Linked DNA regions of Homo sapiens: region 1 is linked to region 2. Evidence: promoter capture Hi-C in human tissues and cell types (Jung and others, 2019). All regions are on one chromosome and are shown on one strand. The core of a region is centred on a gene start or on the middle of the fragment in contact, and the rest is flanking DNA. Distances in the headings are between cores, read along the strand shown.

Evidence for each region. The method cuts DNA at HindIII sites, captures the fragments that hold promoters and counts their contacts. A contact is called where the count stands out against the background at its distance.
Region 1: a contact is called between a fragment that was not itself captured here and the fragment with the promoter of STK33 in region 2, in 1 of the 25 tissues and cell types used here (spleen).

What each region holds. Positions count from the first base shown.
Region 1 is chr11:7,471,446-7,474,464 of GRCh38, reverse strand. No RefSeq gene overlaps it. Among named protein-coding and RNA genes, the nearest start is that of SYT9-AS1, 7.1 kb to the right of the region's middle. RefSeq lists an enhancer at 418-647. The HindIII fragment of the contact is 8,532 bases long and covers 1-3,019 here.
Region 2 is chr11:8,592,787-8,595,828 of GRCh38, reverse strand. STK33 (serine/threonine kinase 33) reads left to right here and starts at 1,601. Exons shown (of 16, transcript NM_001352389.2): 1 at 1,601-1,746. RefSeq lists a silencer at 1,779-2,038. The HindIII fragment of the contact is 7,731 bases long and covers 1-3,042 here.

The DNA of each region.
Region 1 (3,019 bases), core at 377-2,876, 1.1 Mb after region 2:
GATCCTTTCTTGACCCACATATGATGGGCCTGGAAAGGTGGGGTCACCTCTACTGACACTTTCCTGGCTGCAGACTGGGTTATGGAGGTGAGTGTCATCCATCCTCACATTGGATAAATTGATGGAGGAGCTGCCATGACTGAGGGTCACAGGTATCAAAGGAGACAGGAGGCTTCTCAGAAGACTAAACTACTGTGTTAGGTAGGCAGGTGCCTTATCTCTGGCATTCCCATGCAGCAACTTCTGTAAGAGTCAGAGAGCTTCTTTCTATAAAGGGATGCACAAAGTCAAGTCTCCCAGCTGTGGTAGGACCATGCTCCCCTCAGCCACTTTCAGGAAGGACATGGAGCCCTGCACCAGCCTCTTTGCAGCTGTTCCTGCACAATAATTGCATTTGTGCTTGTGTGTGTATATGTGTACAGTGGCCTAGAAATGCCAAGCACCATTATGTAAAAACCAGTGATGGGCTGGGCCAAGGCAGGAAGTTCTAGGCAGGGGTTTCCCATGGTCATGCTGTGTCTGAGTCCTTTGGGGATTGCCAAAGTCCTCTTAAGCCCAGAAGGGTAGAAGCCAAGTATAGTCACAGGTGCAGTGCTGTTTATCCCTCAGATATGGCCGTGACCTGGCTGCACCAGGGGCTGACAAGTGTCTGGCAGGATCCCTGACAGCAGAGAGTGTCTAGGAAGGTGAGGCCTGGAAATCACAGGATTGGTCAGTGGCAGAGCAGGTCCTCAGCCCCACCTCAGGAAAAGGCTGTCTCCAACCTGCACTGTGCTTGGTGGTAACTGGGTGGAGTTCCCTTTGTACTTTCTAGGAGCCAGCTGGTCTCCACCACTATGTCCAACTACCAGAATAGGGCAAATAATTTAGGATTAGAACCCAAAGAAGTGAGATCATGCACTAGAATAATTTCAAGTAGTGAGTAAAAGTTTAATCTTCCTTCCCAGTCATTAACCCCTGTATAATTACAGCTTCAAGACTGAAAGCTACCTTTCCCAAACTAGTGATTTTTCCTTGTTCCCTGGAGTCAAAGAAGGTCATAAGTTGAAGGTAGGTGGGGGAATCTTTCCTAATTTATATAAACACTTCTACAAGGACCTGCCGTCTTTATATAAACATCAGAAGACTTGAGGACCATGCTGGGGTCTTTTCTTTTCAAAGCCAGAAAAGGCCCACTGAGGGGCAATGGGTCCCACTGAGGCTTCACACATAGAAGTAGTCCTTTAGGAGGGATAATTGGTACCAGCAGAGAAGGGTACTGCTATAAAGGTAAAACTTGTTTCTGGAAGGTTTACTTACCAGTTGTTTATAGAGTTCATAAGCTCATCTCTAGAGCCCTGAATACAAATGTCTTCAGGTATTTGAAGAAAGGATTTCATTAGTCTTTGAGCTTTGAATTAGGCAAATTTTAAAAACTGCCTTTCTTTGATAAATTTAAATCTAAATCCAAGATCAAGCCTCTGGATACAGCTGCTGTGCAAAAGGAATTTTATCTAAATTGTGTGAATGTCTTGAAGATGATGTTCACTTGGTAGAAAAAAAAACTATCAATATTCCTATGTCAAATGGTTTTGAAATAACTTTAATTCAATGAATAAATTATTGGAATAATAGCTATAATAAATCTAGTATTGAGCCAAAAAATTAATTTTTCTATTATCTTTAATGTTTAAAATCACAAATTCAATTTTCAAAAAATAAAGAAAATGGATAAAAGCAATACCATCCATGTGCTATAAACTATAATATGCAATATTATCATCAATCCATTTCATATTGATATATATACTTTTTAAATTGTCTGGCAATGGTCATCCAGCTTTCACAGAGTAATCTATCTTAAGATATAGTTTAGGGAGGCAAAATCAATGACTCAAGAGGACAGAATCTGTGGCCCAGGTCCTTTTGACTTATTCTTTCCTTTCTACCAGGAGGAGGTGTCATGAGAACCACTAGCTGTTGTGAAAGTTTGGCATTAGCCTATGGATGAGCTGGGAGACCCTAATGACAGAGGCTTAGTCAAAATTTCTGGACTTCAGGGCTGGCTCCTGATCCTCTGAGGCCTTGTGGGCCATCTTTAATCTTTGTTGTTAATCCTTCCCAGGCCCAGAGCTCCTGGACACAAGTGGGAAGACACCAGGGAGTGAGGTGACAGAGGTGATCACGCAGCTAGTTGAATTTTGCAGCCCATATGCCCAGGGATCCCAGCAGCAAGTGACAAGTCTTTTGAGTGGAAGAAGGAAGTGGGTTCCTGCCATAGTCCTTGGGAGAAGCTTGATCTGTTCTCTTGGGAGACTGAGCAAAGAGAGCTTTATATCAGGGACACTGGAAGCAGGTCTGTGGCACTGCTCAGAGCTTGCTCCTTCCTTCCTTCCTTCCTTCCTTCCTTCCTTCCTTCCTTCCTTCCTTCCTTCCTTCCTTCCCTTCCTTCCCTTCCTTCCCTTCCTTCCCTTCCTCCCTCCCTCTTTTTCTTTCTTTCTCTATCTCTTTCTCTCTCTCTTGCTTGCTTGCTCACTCGCTTTTTCTTCCTCCAAAAGAACAGAGACTATTTTTGCCTCACATTCATCCTGGGCTTAGGGATGAAGACCAGGGCTCTCTCCTGCAGCTCCTAGATTGCCAATGTTCTCTTTTCCCATTTGCCTTGGAAGTTGTCCTGTAAGTCTTCCTTGGGGTACTTTCTTGACTTGTGGGACTTTTTTTCCAATTATTTTCTTTTCCTCAGTTTTCTATTTCACTTCTTCCATGAAGGTCAGCCTATCTTGGAATGCACTTGATAGAAAGTAGAATAGTGGGGCTGGGCGTGGTGGCTCATGCCTGTAATCCCAACACTTGGGAAGGCCAAGGCGGGTGGATCACCTGAGGTCAGGAGTTCGAAGCCAGCCTGGCCAACATGGCAAAACCCTGTCTCTACTAAAAATACACAAAAATTAGCTGGGTGTGGTGGTGGGCGCCTGTAATCCCAGCTATTCAGGAGGCTGAGGCAGGAGAATTGCTTGAACCTGGGAGGCGGAGGTTGCAG
Region 2 (3,042 bases), core at 352-2,851:
AAGACATCTGGTTATACTGCTGTTTTTGAAATGCAACTTGCATTGAAGGTCAAGAAACCATTAGTGGGTAGAAACTAGCCTTAAAAAGAGATTAAAAGTATCAGGGTGCATAGCATGTGATGTGGGTAATGTTTTATAAAACTTGTTTCATTTACTAAATATATGAGTACCTGTGTATTGAGTGATAATGTAAAACATATTTATTTTGATGGATTGTGCTCAAAAAAGTTTGAAAAGCTCTGCGCTGGACAAGCTGGTAGGATTCTGCTACAAAGATGTAATAAACAACATTCTTAAAGTAATCCCTCTAGTAAATGCAGAGGTATCATGAATTTTTTTAAACAGCATCTCTTAATATAAGCAAATGGCATAGTGCTAAACATGACTTGGTTCATGCAATGTTGCCAACGGTGAAGACAAAATGGTACAAACATACAGTTTTTTGGTGGTCTGGTTTAATCCAGGGCAAAACGCAGTCCAGTGGTTGCTTTTGTTTTTAGAGGCAGGGCTGGCTATGTCGCCCAGGCTGGAACCTGTGAATATGTTACCTTATATGCAAAGGGCACTTTACAGATGTGATTAAGGACCTTAAGATGCGGGAGATTATCCTAGGAGATCTTTTTTAATCTCCTAGAGCCTGGTACCTAGTAGGACGTCATTATATGGTAGGTTTCTTGCAGCCCTTTGGTGGCCAGGTAGTTTTTAATTTTGTAGAGATGGGGGCCTCCCAGTGTTACCCAGGCTGGTCTTGAACTTCTGGGTTCTAGCAATCCTCCTGCCTTGGCCTCCCAAAGTGCTGAGATTATCGGTGTGAGCCACTGCGCCCGGCCTAGTCCAGTGGTTTGAAGTTTGAAGTTACCAGTCACCCATTATGACCATTTTGAGTTTTTTGATGAAAAGGACTGGATGAACTAGTTGCCAAATGTAGCCTCCCCCGAAGCAATACAATGAATCCACCTGCCGTATCAAGTTACTGGCTATCAATCAGCTAATTTTAGAGAACATCTGCCTCAAATAATTAGGCTAGTATTAGGAGAGTTGAATTTCTTCCCCACACTGCTAGAGAGTAGGACCCAGGACCACAGAAGCCATTCTTAGTTCAGGCCAGTAAATACATTAGCATACAGCTGGACCCTCTGTTGCATGGGGCAGGCATTCAGATGGTTCTCATAGGTTTGTAGCTAAAACATATCCCTGAGAATCGTCATTTGATCTGTCAGGAGTCTTCTCAGCCCCTGCGTGGGGACAAACACCCTCCCCCCAGCATTTTCCCGTCTTTTTAGGCCAGCTCCCCACTCACTGCAGTTCAAGGCTTGCAGCCCTTGCTCCAACTGGCTGGGGCTTGATGGGCTTGACTCCGAGTGAGAAGAGTGGCCTGAGCATCAATCACCTCAGTACTGTGATATTCCTGCTACAAAGCTTTATTTTACGTAACACGTGGCTGCTCCTCTGTGCCCCAGACGGGGTTTTAGGTCCTTCTCTAAGGCGAGCTGCCCTTGGGCGCGCCTGGGGCTGCACCTGGGTCACGTGGGCGCCGTTGTGCAGCCGGCACCTCCCGGCCAACCCCGCGGCTTGGAGAAGGGGCTTTGCACCCGCCGCCGCTGTTTGTCCTCGCGCGGCCCCCGTCCACTGCCCTGCGGTTGCTCTGCGGGCTGAAAAGTTTCTCCCGGTGCAGAATTCCGGGCTCAGCGACAGCCTGCGCCGAGTGTGCGCACCTGTCGGAGACCCGCCAGTCCGCCGGCCGCGGTGAGTGGTCCCTGGAGTCACTGGCTCAGGGCGGGCCCGCGGGATGGGGCGGGCGGCCCGGGGCGCAGCCGGCCAGGCCGTTGCTATGGCAACGCGGTGGAAAAACGGGCCTCTGGGTATCTCGCTGCCGGCCGGCTGGTAACCCCCCAGCGGAGGGACCGGGCCGAGCCCGCGGACCCCTCCGAGTGTCTCCTGGGGCCCAGCCGTTGGTACCCCATTTCCCCCGGGTCCGGTATTTGGGGTGGTCTCTGTCTGCCCCGGTTCATCTCCACCGTCTCACCTTCACCCCATCTTGGGACGTGAAACTTTTTGAAAGTTTAGAAGCGAACTTACTGTGGGGTAAGTGTGTGGGAAACATCCTTAGAAGTTCTGAAGTTGTGTTTCTTTTTTTTAAACTGCTAGAGCCTGGTACCTAGTGGGACCCCATTATATGGTAGGTTTCCTGTTGCCCTTAAGATAGTCTCTTGCACCTAGAGGCTGCACATAGGAGGTGAAAGGATGACATAAAGCAGCCCCGTACTGGCTCTGTGGACAGGTAATTTAAGAACTCTCCCTCAGCTTCCTAAATGTAGATTATAATTTCTCACAAGGTCGTGGGTTTCAGTGAACCTATATGTGAAGCTGTTTTGTGAACAGTACATGTGAAAAGCACTTGAGCGTTAGTAAGGGATATTTGCATGCTAAGAGTGGTCTGGTGCTCCCCGTCCCATATCACCAGCTAAGAAGGACCTTCTTTTTTGCCTGACCACCAAATGACTCCAATATCCAACCAGAAAATAGGATAGTCCTGCCTTGAAAGAGGGCTCTGTGAATGGAAAGGAACATCAACAAGTTTTGAACCCAAACTCTTTCCTTGTTCTCCAGGCCCGTGCCTTTAGACAGTGATGGATATGCAGATATATCGCGCATTTAAATTTTTAGCTCGTGTAAATCTCTGTTGCTATCTCAATGGGTCATACCAACCTCTAGTTTGCAAATCAGAAATCTTGGCCTCATCCTTGACACCTCGCACTTTCTTCCTTTCCATATCCAAACAATCATCAAGTTCTATTCATTTTATCTTCAAACCAAATCTCAAATCCATTTGAGTATCTCTGTCTCTGCTACTATTACCCTAGACCAATCTACCATGATCTGTTGTCCAGTAGTAGCCTCTTAACTAATCTAAAGGTATTTATCCTTTCCTTTCAATATTCCCATCCATTCTTTGCCCTGCAGCAGGAGTAGTATTTTCACAACTAAAATTTGATTATGCTACCCCCCAACCTCCTCTAGCTCAAAATCCATCATGGCTTC